4 separate regions of the Homo sapiens genome follow, and regions 2, 3 and 4 are each linked to region 1. Evidence: promoter capture Hi-C in 16 types of primary human blood cells and fetal thymus (Javierre and others, 2016). All regions are on one chromosome and are shown on one strand. Each heading gives the region's core, a stretch centred on a gene start or on the middle of the fragment in contact. The rest is flanking DNA. Distances are from core to core; before and after follow the strand shown.

Region 1 (3,027 bases), core at 334-2,833:
GAGACAGGGTCTCACTCTGTCGCCCAGGCTGGAGTGCAGTGGCACGATCATGGCTCACTGCAGCCTGGACCATCCCGGGCTCAAGCAATCCTCTCACCTCACCCCTCCAAGTGGCTGGGGACTACAGGCGCCACCACACCAAGCTAATTTTGTTTATTTTTATAGATACAAGATCACACTATGTTGCCCAGGCTGGTCTCGAACTCCTGGGCTCAAGCGATCCTCCTGCCTCAGCCTCCTAGAATGCTGGGATTACAGGCATGAGCCACCATGCCCGGCTGCAACTCAGTCTTAACATTTTTATTGACGCTAGAGTTAGCCCACAAAGAACATGCACTATGAGCAAGCCAGTAATAATTAAGAGGCCTCGAGGGCACATACTGGATGCCAATCACTGTTCTAAGCATCATACCCATTCATTCATTTAATCCTTAGGGCAACCTTATGAGGCAGGAAATATTTTTCACATTTTGCAGACAAGGACCTTGAAGCACAGAGAGGGTGAGTAACTTGCTCAAAGCCACACAGCTAGTAAGCAACCGATTTTGAATGCGGGAAGCCTGCACTCTTAACTACCATGCTACCCTCCCTCTCAGTCCTCGAAAAGAGAATTAAAAGGCAAGACCATCAGATGTTTGGTGACATGATGTAGTCAGAGTGAAATGGCCGGGTGCCCAAGTCCCAGGGAAGGTCATAGATGACAACAGCCAATTGTAAAATCCTCACATTTTCTGTGAAGTTTGTGTTTGTAGTTTCTGAGTTGCCACAATTAAGAGTTGTCATACATACCCAAGAAATAATATAATAAAAAATGTTTCGTCTGCCACCACAGATGAATGTCATGCATTCTGGGTAGTTTAGTCTTATAACCAGCTGTCTTGCCTAGTCTATTTAAGTTCAGCTGCTCTAGCTGAGAATTTTCTCTTATTAAACCCTGTGAGTCTCAAACTCCCTGCACCTTAGACTAGGCAGCTGAGAGAAGCCCCTAGAAAAGCTCATTTTTAATTTTGAACCATAAAGAATTATATACTAACTGTGCCATGAAACTGATATATTAGAGGAAAATTTTATTTGGCGTTTGTAATTTAATATTAATTTTGACCATTTTTAGGCTTCCCTCTTGTCTGGAGGAAAAAGAAAAAAGAGAACCAGACTTAGACACAACTTCTTGTGGGCACATATTCAGAAGGCATCTCACTGGAGAGGGTTTAGTTCTCCTTAGCAGAAGATAAGATTTCAAGATTTCAGCTAAGACTCATCTCTCTGCAAATCTTTCTTTTGAGAGGTAAGGATTGTTAGTTATTAAAATACTATTGCTCCCTTTAAAGTCTTTCACTCACAATCATGTTTTGTATCTTTGATGTTATAACCGTCTGAAACTCATTCCAAACTGTGACCCTTTCCTTATCTTAAAGATTATATTTTAAGATAATTGTATGAGCACTTGGTGTTTGCCAAATGTCTTCTATGGGTTTCCTGTAAAGTCTTTTACTCATCTCAGAAGCTAACTAACAGGCCAAGCAGCTGAGAGGTTACTTACCGGGGAGAGTTTCTTGTAGGGGAACGGATGTCTCAGCTCTTCTGGCCAGATGAGCTGTGCAAATCAATCATATAGACAGTATAAAAGTAGGAAATGCTGTTTCTTTTGAAGGAGGGTGGAGTTAAATCATTAAGTGTATTGAAGGCGAAAAGAATCAGAGAACAGTTCTTCTTTTTAAGTTGAGCTTAAAATAAGCTAGAGAATAGATCTCTGGTCTGAAGGTTTATTTACGGGCTTTTCTCACTGGATTATTTTGTTTTTGTTCTCTGCTCATCCCACTACACAGAATCTGTTAGAAAATATAAAGAATAAAGGATATCAGAGCTAGAAGAACATTTACATTCATCTAGTCAAAAGCCCACATTTTAGTAAAAGAAATTACTATCCAAGAAGCAAATGATTTGTACAAGATCACAGGGCTTTTCAACAGTAAGGCTAAAAGGTTAAGAAAATTCTGATTATCTTAAGAGTTGCTATTAATTAAAGCCAACTTAAACCAACTTTAAATGTAGAGGGGGATCCTGGACTTCACATTAACCCTGTGTCCCCTTTTTCTCCACTCTCCCCGTATCCCCTATCCCACCCCAACCCCCACACAGATGCTCACCACCCAATATTATTGTTCTCTGTAAACGGAAACAACCTGTTGTCTAAAGAGTTTTAACTATGGGCTCACGGGTGAGCTAAACAGGTTTCCCATCTTTTTCTGGACCCAGGATCTTAGTGGGGATTTTCACTCTGTTCACTATTTTGTTGCCCTTCAAACCAGTAAGCATTTATGAGGACTCACACTATGCCAGATACATAGGTGGCAGGATTCTTCACTCCAGATATAATCTATCTGAAGCTATGAGAAATTTTCCACATGACATAAGTATATGGTCAAGTTCAGGTTCTTTATGACTATACTATATACAGTCATATCAAGCTCTCTTGGCGGTTGGTGACATCTGAAAATCTCAAGTATTGTCAGCAGAGCTGAGAAGACAGCAGAGAGCTACTCCCGAGCCACAAGATGCCCTCTGGGCTTCCGTGACCTTGGCTCTAGAATAAAAAGCTTTGGCTTGTGATCTCTAAGAAGGCAAATGAGACCCCAAACAGCAAAATTACGTGCCCCCAATCCTACAGAGGCAGACTAACCCAGGGGCTAAGCCAGTGGCCTCTGTAGTCAGACTGCCAAGCTTGAAACCTGTCTTACCCTCAGCTTTCTCGTCTGGGTATTGGGCTGAATGACAGTAGTCATTTCATGAGTTGTTGGGAGGATTCTATGAGGCATCCACGGCCAGCATCTAGCACATACTATGCACTCAGTAAACATCAAACTCTTAGTTACTCTTTCAGCAGTCCTTTGTCAGAGAGAGTTTATTTGATCAAATCCTAATAAAATTGGTTCACCGGAGTCTCTGTCTATAGCAGATTAGTTTCAGCAAACTAGAAGCTGAAAAGGTAAAGCTAATTGCTGGTGCTTGGAGAATAGAAAGAAATGA
Region 2 (3,098 bases), core at 114-2,613, 270 kb after region 1:
ACCCAAGCAGTACACTGTGCCCAGTGTTTAGTCTTTTATCCCTTACCACCCTTGCACCCTTGAGAAATAATCTTTTTAAAAAGCAAATAAAAGCTGACTGGAAGGGGCTGAGGCTTCCAACATGGGAGTAACATCTTAGAGCAGGGGTCTCCTTGAATTGGTTTGACTTCTCCCACTCTCACAGAAGAAAGCAAGATTTACCCATCAGCACCCCCTTCCACAGCCAGAGAGCTCACAGTCACACCTTCTCATTCGCAGAAGGACCCCAGTCCCCCATTTACTTCAACTTAACAACCCAACCTAGAATGCATAAATAGAAATGAGCTGCCACAAACACCATTCACTCAGGAAAAGAAAAGGACCAAGATAAGTCAACAGAACAAATGAACTTGGAGGAGGTAGAACAAGGAAAGGAAAAAGAACTAAGTAAAAACCTTAAACTCTAATTATCCTCTTGGAGAACCAAGATGATACGTCCGTAAAACAAAACCCACACTTTGGGAGGCCAAGGCAGGTGGATCACGAGGTCAAGAGATTGAGACCATTCTGGCCAACATGGTGAAACCTCGTCTCTACTAAAAATACAAAAATTATCTGGGCATGGTGGTGGGCACCTGTAATCCCAGCTACTCAGGAGGCTGAGGCAGGAGAATTGCTTGAACCCGGGAGGCAAAAGTTGCAGTGAGCCCAGGTCACGCCACTGCACTCCAGCCTGGTGACAGACCGAGACTCTGTCAAAAAAAAAAAAAAAAAAAAAAATCTTCTATTAAAAAGGAGCAGTTGAAAACCAAGAGTTTGTTCTAAATCCCTTTTAAAATATATTTACTTTTTATTATCACAAATATAATACATTCAATTTTTTTGAAACCAAAAGTCAAAGACAGAAAAAATACATTAAAAATTCAAGAAGAACTTGCAGAATACAGAGTAAAATGACCAAAATAAAATGGGTAATTGGAGAAAAAAAATACATAGGGTCAATTTAGGTGGCTCAACATTTACATTGCAGGAATTTCAGAAAAGGAGAAGAAGGAAAACAGAAAGCAGAAAATTATCAAAGAAACAATTGAAAAAAATCTCCCGGAGTTGAAGAAAGATATAAGCTTTGGATTGAAAGACCCCAAGCACTGAGCACAATGAACAAAGAGTGATCCATAGAAATAACCTCTTGGAATTTCAGAGCACCAACAATCTAAGGAGATCCTAAACACTCTCAGAGAGAAACAAGAAACAAATAAACAACAAAAGAATAAGAACCAACTTTGGGAGGCCAAGGCAGGTAGATGACTTGAAGTCAGGAGTTTGAGACCAGCTTGGCCAACATGACAAAACCCCGTCCTATTAAAAATACAAAAGTTAGCTGGGTGTGGAGGCAGGCACCTGTAATCCCAACTACTCCAGAGGCTGAGGCAGGAGAATCACTTGAACCCAGGAGGTGGAGGTTGCAGTGAGATGAGATCACACCACTGCATTCCAGCCTGGACAACAAAGACTCCATCTCAAAAAAAAAAAAAAAAAAGAATAAGAACCAGATTGGCATCTTTCTCATTAGCAGTTTGCACCTCTGAAACAGAGAGGAGTTAGCTTTAAGGATTCTCAGACCCTGTTTAACTCAAAAGCTTATGAATCCAAATTTCTAGCAAGTGTGAGCATTGCCATTGAGATCATGCGACCCTGGCAATCTTGATGACAAAAATGGCTGGGCTCTATTTTCTGTTGTTGTTGGACAAGAATCTCCCTTGATATCTGAAGCTAAGAAGTGCTAAGAACCTCATGCTCCTCCAACAGCATTGCAATAACTTGCTCCAACAGAAGGCCAAGTCCACATAGATTAACCTTGATGTTCACGTAGAAAAAGGCCAAAGACCTCACACACTGAAGGCCAGCAATCCCCTGCAAGCCCTGCTCCAGCCCTTGAAGAAGCCAGCAATCATTTGGGCTGTGGCCTCCCACAGAGGAGTGAGTCTTCTCTGTTTTGCAAGAAAAGCAGGAAGTATGTTGAAAGTCATAACCACAGCAAAAAACTGCCACATCAAACTGAGAGGTGCTCTCTAAACATGGAGATATCATTCACCACCAGGAACCCAGATGAAAGTAAATCCCACTGTCCACAGAGTTACTTACACACCTGTTCATGTCTTGGCCAGGATTTTATCTAAAATGAAGTTCTGTGTGTAGTAGGTTATTAATAAAAGCAAAACAAAGAGAAACAGAAACTTCTACCCTCACCTGTCCAAGAGAAGCCACACTCGTGGTGAGATCCTGTAACAAATGACAATTAATTTGACCTTTCTAACTGGAGTGTCTGGAATTGTGGGGTCAGGTTTTGAAGATGAGAGGCTGTAACTAAGAAATATCCACTAGCTGTTAGTAGAGAGTCTACAACCTTGCCTTTTAAAGTGTAGTTCTCAGAGCAGCAGCAGCAGCTGCTGCAGCACCAGGAGGCTTTATGAGACACAGAGTCTTAGGCCACAAGCCAGACTGCCTTTCACCAAAATCTCCAGAGGATACATTTGGGCATTAAAGTTTGAGAGGTGCTGGTGTACAAGACCTGGGTGGATGTGGATGTGCATGTGCTGGGAGGGACCCTTCTTGGAATTTTGTACCAAAGATTGTGACCCTCTTAGGCAATCAAGTCTGAGTCATAGAGGAGGCCCCAGAAATTCAGCCTAGAAACGCCTGTGTTTAAAAACAGAAGGCCATGGCTTCCAGGAAGGATGATCTATTTTATAATACCGTAAGGTTTCAAAATGACTACAGCCCCCTTATCCGCCTCCACTGAGCTCCACACCGTCGTCTACCCTGACACTCTTGGTGCTGGAGACATAGGGGTCCGGAGCAAGGCAATCACAGGGGACAGGAACCTTGCTTTTTGAGACCCTGGGCCCCAGAACAGCTCTAGCCAAGGCTCCCACACCCCTCATTCTAGAAATGAGGGTTTTCTAGAAAGTCAGGCCTGCATGCAGGGAAGGGAGGTGAGGGTGCCCATGAGTGAGCCGCTCAGAAATCCCTTCTCCAGCCCCACTCTCTCAGTGACCCCACCTGGACATCATCTACTCTATCCACAAGAAGCGGGTTCAGCCGAGGGGATTGACCAG
Region 3 (3,373 bases), core at 728-3,227, 410 kb after region 1:
GCCATTTTGGTGGACAGGGTCTACTAAACAACTTCCTGGCAACTTTATACTAGATGTGGAAGGTGTAAAGTAATCAGTCTCTCTGCAGAACCCTTTGTTTAATGGAGCTTTTATTATGTCCCACTGGACCATCCTTGGAAAACCACTGCCTTAGGAAATAGCTGCATTAAAAATGGAGTGGGTGGGGTGAGGAAGACAGCGAGATTCAGCCAGCTCCCTCTGCTATAGACTGAGACACCCTGCAGCACCCAAAACGGAATTCCCTGGGCCTCAGGGGGGCTATCAGGTAGAACAGCTGGCAGTGCAGATTAAGACTGAGTGCCTGCTGTGGGCCCAGGGCCATGCCCCATGTGTAGAGTCCCAAGGACGTGTGGAAGACAGGCCCTCCTCTGTGTGGCCACCTCCAGGAAGCTACACCTCTGTCCTGCCTGTCCTGACTCCTTTCTCCTCCTGCCCATCCTCCCCATCACCAGCCCATGAGCCTTGCCTATCAGGCTTCTCTTGCAAGCCCAGCCCCTGTCCAGGAGCCAAGGGGTGCAGAGTTCTATTCACTTAGGGTGCTTCTGGCAACCTGGGGTCAGCCTGCTTTCCCTCCCAGAATGCCCCTTTGTATGTGGGGGTGAGAGGAGAGTCTCAAAAGCTAGGGGACTGCATAAGCTGTGAGCAGATACCAAGGGGCTCCCCCATGGCGGAGGGCAGTAGCACCCCTCATTAGAGTCCTGGGTGAGCTTAGAGCCCTGGGAAAGCTGGAAGTCCTGGCTAATCAAGAAAACTTACCACTCCTCCCCCAGGACCCAGAAGGAACTCGAAAAAGCCACAACAAAAATCCAAGAGTATTACAACAAACTCTGCCAGGAGGTGACAAATCGTGAGAGGAATGACCAGAAGATGCTTGCTGACCTGGATGACCTCAACAGAACCAAGAAGTATCTCGAGGAGCGGCTGATAGAGCTGCTCAGGTGAGTGCTGTGTCAAACCAGCAGCTGGGGTTTTCCCCACACTGGGGTTTTTCTCTAAAGAAATGCAGCTGTTCTTGAAAGCATACTTCAGAAATTTCCCCACTTTCTTGCTGCTGTCTCAGGAGCCCCTCTCTCCTTCTCCATCTCACTTTCCCCAGTACTAGAGTCCCAAACTCCAGCGCCTGCAGGTACCAGGCAGCTGATACAAGTGGAAGCTTGTATCAGGAGGGGACTGTGAGAAACTGAGGACACAGCTGGGCTCTGCTTCTGCCATATGTCTTGGCCTAGAACTGCCAGACCACCTTACTTCTTGAGAGAAGGTGGAAACCTGGATCTTAATGTGAAGTGTCCTGATTTTTTAATGCTGACAAGTCATTCAAAACTTATTTTAACTTTTCCTTATGGAAATTTTCAAATATACAAAAATGGAATCATGTAATACACCTCCAGGTACCTGTCACCCAGCTTCAACAGTGTTCAGCTCAGGGCCAGTCTTGATTCATCTGTAGACCCACCTGCTTACCCACCTTCCCAGATTATTTTGAAGCAAATCCCAGACATATCATTTCATCCATAAATATTTCAATATGTACCTCTCCAAGGTAAGGACTCTTTTATTTTCTATTTTTTGAATTTTTTTTTTTTTTGAGACAGAGTCTCACTCTGTTGCCCAGGCTTGAGTACAGTGGCGTGATCTTGGCTCACTGCAACCTCTTCCTCCTGCATTCAAGCGATTCTTGTGCCTCAGCCACCCAAGTAGCTGGGATTACAGGCACACACCACCACTCCCAGCTAATTTTTATATTTTTAGTAGAAATAGGCTTCACCATGTTGGCCAGGCTGGTTCTGAATTCCTGGCCCCAAATGATTTGCCTGCCTCAGCCTCCCAAGTCCTGGGAGTACAGGCATGAGCCACCATGCCTGGTGCCAGAACCCTCCATTTTAAACAACCACAGTGTCCTTATTACACCTTAAAAAATGAAGTATAATTTCTTAATATCATCAAGTGTCTAGTCAGTTTCAAATTTTTCCGATTGCCTTAGAATATTTTCAGGTCGTTCTAATCAGGATCTAAATTAGATTCATCTATTGCAATTGCTGTGTCTCTTACATCCCTTTTAGTCAATGGGTTTCCCTATCATCTCTCTACTTTTGCCGATTGCATCCCCATGGTGTCATTTAACATGATCATCCATCCCTTGCATTTCCTGTGAGTCCATAGTTAGAACTATTGCAGTGGTTCTCAATCCTGGCTACATATTAGAATCACTAGGAAAGTAATTTAAAAATGCCCATGTCCAGGCCCCACCAAGACTAACCGAATTGGAATTTCTGGGAGTGAGACTCAGACACCAGTGAGCCAGAGCTGAGAACCATCATTCTACTGGCAGCTTGCTTAGACTCAGGTTCAAAATTTTGGTAAGAAGCCTTCATAGAATTGGTTTGTAGTTTGGGGTCTTTCCTTCAAGAGGCACATACAATCTGATTAGCCCTGTTTTTGTGATGTTAGCAGCACCATGGATCAGCAAAGCCTAGATATGCTAATTCATTAAGTGTTAGAAAACAGTGATATTAAAATTATAACCAATTTGAAAGTTTAAAAACTCTGCCTTCTTATCATCAATATACAGAGTTAGAACTCAGGGTATTTGTGACCTGAGGGGTGTGATGGAAAACACCAGCTCCTGGCAGCATTCCACATTCCCAAAGTTTGGGTGGACCAGCCTAGAGAATGAGGCTGCTTCAGAGAATGAGTCTTCCTGCTTCCTGACAATTTCAAGTGTCCTTGAAAAAGCCAGCCAAGCCCATGTTCAAGCTTTTTTATTTAAGGCAAAAGATCTGGGGTTGATTGGGAGTTCCTGGTCAGTGATGGAGCCTGTCTCTCTCAGGACCTGAGTGGCTCGGGTGTCACATTACCGGTGGCTGAGGTGCTGCTAGAGCCACGTTAGCCCTGAGGATGCTAGCTGGGGCTCCATACGAGAAAGAACTAAACTTCACATGTCAGAAACCATCAAGCCTGAACATGCTCATTAGTATCCCTGAGGAAGCCTCTGTTCACATCCTCCCCCTCCAGTGCATCAGGCACATTCTGACACTGCCAGACCTTTCTGGAAAGCCTCACACTTCTTTGAGTCTGGCTTCTTGGAGTGACCTTACCATCTCTCTGAGGGGCAGAGGAGGCTAACATCTGATCAGATTTTCACACTAGGAAATCTTTGATCTTCTCCACTGATTAATTGTTACTTGGATCAACCATAGAAACATAAAGGGCCCCAAGCACATTAAGATTCAGGTGGGAAGTACATTCATGGTCCTTGGGCTTACTGCACGCCGTCGGCATGGCAGCACGTTTTAGCTTAAACTCCCAGTGGTCCCCCAGCACTGTTGTTTAGGTGCCTGAGTGGTGGCTCTCT
Region 4 (3,453 bases), core at 455-2,954, 390 kb after region 1:
CATGGCCTCCCCTTCCTCTGTGCAGGTGCCACCATGGAGTCTGACCACTGCTGAGCAGACAGCCACCGAGGGCCGAAATTCTGAGCCTTCCTCTGGACCCAGGCAGGAGACATACAGACAAGAAAGGCAAACTCACCATGGCCTCCACCAATGCAGAGAGCCAGCTCCAGAGAATCATCCGAGACTTGCAAGGTATGGTAGGTTGCTGGGCAGGCTGAGTTTGGTTTTGAGGGACTTGTGGCAGGGCTTTTTGCTGTTGCCAGTTGAAATTCAACCCTTTCATTTTTGTTCACACAACGAGTAATTGGAGTCCTCAGGTCACATCATATTGAAATATTTGGGTCTCAAATATCCACCTTGTGTAAGGCTTGGAAAGCTTGCCTGGTTTCCTTTCAGAGAACTGTAAAGCCAGTTTGTAAACAAAATCATACACCCGGCTCCAGGACTGGGTCTGATTTCCATTAGTGCACACATGTGTGTTTTGAAGCTGCCTGTTAAGTCTTTGGCTAAATCCCAAACTTCTGGGCTCTGATGAAGTTGGCTTCTTTGGAAAAGAATGTTCTTTCTCCCACTGAGCAGGAAGGACAGAGACCCACCTATCTTGTTTTGCTGCCCAACTGGGTCCTGGCTGGCGGATGGCCCATTGCCTGGGATGCACTGTAGGTCCAGTCCTGCTGCCTCCCAGACTTCCCTGAGCTCAGCGTTGTCCACTGAGAGAGGCTATGACTTGTATCCCTTATCTCACTGGAGAAAAGCAAGGCAGAGGAAGGTGCAGATAAAGTTTCATAGACTCAGGAGAAACGGACTATTTTCTTTTTGGCTGCAAATTCCAAGTTTCACTCTTTCAGATGCTGTCCCAGGGGTCAGAGTTTTTATAAGTTTTCCATCCCCACTCATCACCAGTGCTGACCTTTAAGCTCTTCGGAGCTCTAGGACACTTGATACTACACAGTCTGAAGCTGACCACTTCCTCCATGCCTGCAGAGTCCGCTGTGACACTTTTCTGACAGACTAAAGGCCCAGGCTTCTAACTGCTTGGGCACCACAAGCAGTTATCTCCCATACCAGGAGCCATTGGCCTAGCATGGCCACAGTGCAGTTCTCATTCTGAAGTTCCAAAGTCAACAAGATAAAAAACATTTTCTCAGGCTTTTAATCTTGTGTCTACCATGCCTTGGGCCTCTGATAGCTAACAATTTCATGGCATTTCATGTGCACCGGGCACTTTCTATACCAACAGCCTGGCACCAGTCTATGCTCCTAACCACTCTAGTCTACTTTCAGCTAAGACATTAGATGCTTTTTTAAATCTACACAGAGAGGCAGAGAAAGTGAAATGCCAGTCTCTGCAAATCTGAGTTTGCCACTGGCTTTAAGAGGTCTCTCCATAAAGTAGATAGTCTTTTCTGTGTTTCAATATCTGGTTCTTGAGGATAACTTTGAGACCTGGAGGTCCTTATTGGGAGGGAAGAGGGTGAAATAGGGGACCCTCAGGTAGAGCTTCTGATCTAGACCATTGTCTATCCTATGTACCAGCTGAGTCTGGCCACCCCCAACATCCTGGGCTGATTTCAATGTCCTTTACATAGGCCACAGAGCACTTTGGTGGGAATTCTTGAAAGGTGCCACTTTCTCAGTACCCTCCACTTTCATCTGTTGGTAAACGTCTTAATAAGCATACAAATCTACAGCATCTACCATGAGAGTGGAGTGTCCTTAACTGAGGCATCTTTGTGTGGTACACAGCCTTCACTCCTCTGCAGGGCAGCCCACTTATCCTCTTGGTGACAGCAGTTTCAAAGACTTTGGAGTCAGGCAGGGGTGTGCTCAGCTTCTGGCTTCTCTTTTAACCCTCGAAAATGTTGGACAAGTCCCTTCACCTTTCCAACGCACAGTTGCTTCCTTCATGTGCCAGGTGGGTTTGATGATAACACCCACTTCTCAAGATTATTGAAAGAATCAAATAGTAATTCCTGCAAAGCTAATATTACTTAGAATATCAGAGATTAGAGCTGAAAATTTCATATTTCATATCCAGAGTCTACTCCTTCAAAGTTTCAGGAGTTCCCAGATCAGGTTGCGAGTGTTTACCTGGCCTGAGGAGGCAGGAGGGTGGAGGAGGAAGGCTCTTTGTCTCTCCCAGGCCCCTGGCTCACTGGCTGTCAGTGCCAGCCATTGCAGACACTTCTAGCAAGGTACAGTGGACAACAGTCACTTGTAAGAATCAGTCCCAAGAACCTGTCTCCACCATTTGCTAATCTTTGCCTGAGGGGTCGTGTTGATTACATTTTCAGCCATCTTAGGCTTGGCTTCAGTCCTGGACAGGTCTGCTTCAAACCATGGTTCTTGGGAGCAGGGTTTAGGAATTTAAGAATTGCCAGAGAAGCAGATAGTTTTGTGAAGCACATCCCACCATCTCTGCTGGGAAAAGGTTTTCCAGGATCTAAACCAAATCCAGTGTCTCGATAGTCCCTCTGTCCCACAGCAGAGGCAGTGAGTGAGAGTCAAAGGTGGGTTTTCCTCTTTTCTACACAGGGAGGTGAATTATCTTAGAAGTTAAGAGGTGAGCTCTGGAGTTAGACAGCTCTTGAGAAAACCAGGGTTCTTATTCCAGCTCTGCTGTTTGCCACCCATGATCTTTGGCCAAGTGCTCTGATTTCTCTGTACACTCCTCATCTGCAAAATGGGGATAATCATAGCAGACTTCATAGATTCTAAATTGTACTTTTTTTTTTGACATTTTAACAGCTCTGAAACTGTAATGTATATTATAATTAATTGTATCTTAGATTCATCGAAATAAGGCAATCCCTGCCTCTCAATGCCATATTAAATGAGAAAAATACATGTAAAGGCCCAGCCCCTCAAGGACACTCAGTTAACAGAAGCAGGTGCGGTTGTCATTGTTGGAATTGTGATTGTCACTACTATTATTTGCACATACTGGGTATTCTGATCCTGCGCTTACCTATAATGAGCAGTAGGATTATAGTGAAGAACCTGAAATGTGGCTAGAATAAAGGTAAAGCTTTCTGGAAGTCAGTATTCAGGGACTGAATTGATTCATCCACACAGCAAACATTTGTTGTCCAGCTACTATATGCAAATTACTAGCCCTGGGTGGTGGACAGACAAGGGTGAACAAGAAATGTGCCCAGTCAACAAGCATTGTAAAGTATCTGTGAGCTCTCAGGACATTTCAACACTCCCTGACTTGGAGTTATATCTCATGGATACTTACATACCCTTTTATGTTTCAGAGGTGCTTTGTATCACTGACCACTTGCTCCTCATGCTTCCTGGATTATTTCTGCTTCTCTGTCTGAGTTTAGTCACTATCTGGTTACATGTTCCTATTTGTTGTCTTAAAGATGCTGTGACAGAACTAAGCAAAGAATTTCAGGAAGCAGGGGAACCCATCACGGATGACAGCACCAGCTTGCATAAATTTTC

Evidence for each region. Contacts are between HindIII fragments. The CHiCAGO score rates a contact against its expected background, and 5 or more counts as called.
Region 2: a fragment that was not itself captured here is called in contact with the fragment with the promoter of CCR5 in region 1 in 7 of 17 cell types (M0 macrophages, total CD8 T cells, M1 macrophages and 4 more); the score reaches 16.4 in M0 macrophages.
Region 3: a fragment that was not itself captured here is called in contact with the fragment with the promoter of CCR5 in region 1 in 1 of 17 cell types (total B cells); the score reaches 5.7 in total B cells.
Region 4: a contact is called between a fragment that was not itself captured here and the fragment with the promoter of CCR5 in region 1, in 1 of 17 cell types (neutrophils). The highest score is 6.5, in neutrophils.

What each region holds. Positions count from the first base shown.
Region 1 is chr3:46,369,502-46,372,528 of GRCh38, reverse strand. CCR5 (C-C motif chemokine receptor 5) reads right to left here and starts at 1,583. Exons shown (of 2, transcript NM_001394783.1): 1 at 1,541-1,583. CCR5AS (CCR5 antisense RNA) reads left to right here. Exons shown (of 4, transcript NR_125406.2): 3 at 1,112-1,285. The HindIII fragment of the contact is 2,671 bases long and covers 1-2,599 here.
Region 2 is chr3:46,097,508-46,100,605 of GRCh38, reverse strand. No RefSeq gene overlaps it. Among named protein-coding and RNA genes, the nearest start is that of XCR1, 72 kb to the right of the region's middle. RefSeq lists an enhancer at 2,857-2,966. The HindIII fragment of the contact is 516 bases long and covers 1,106-1,621 here.
Region 3 is chr3:45,959,811-45,963,183 of GRCh38, reverse strand. FYCO1 (FYVE and coiled-coil domain autophagy adaptor 1) reads left to right here. Exons shown (of 18, transcript NM_024513.4): 11 at 792-959. Among named protein-coding and RNA genes, the nearest start is that of CXCR6, 18 kb to the right of the region's middle. RefSeq lists an enhancer at 1,037-1,226. The HindIII fragment of the contact is 1,601 bases long and covers 1,177-2,777 here.
Region 4 is chr3:45,981,595-45,985,047 of GRCh38, reverse strand. FYCO1 (FYVE and coiled-coil domain autophagy adaptor 1) reads left to right here. Exons shown (of 18, transcript NM_024513.4): 2 at 26-192; 3 at 3,372-3,453. The coding sequence starts at 138. Among named protein-coding and RNA genes, the nearest start is that of FYCO1, 13 kb to the left of the region's middle. The HindIII fragment of the contact is 2,652 bases long and covers 379-3,030 here.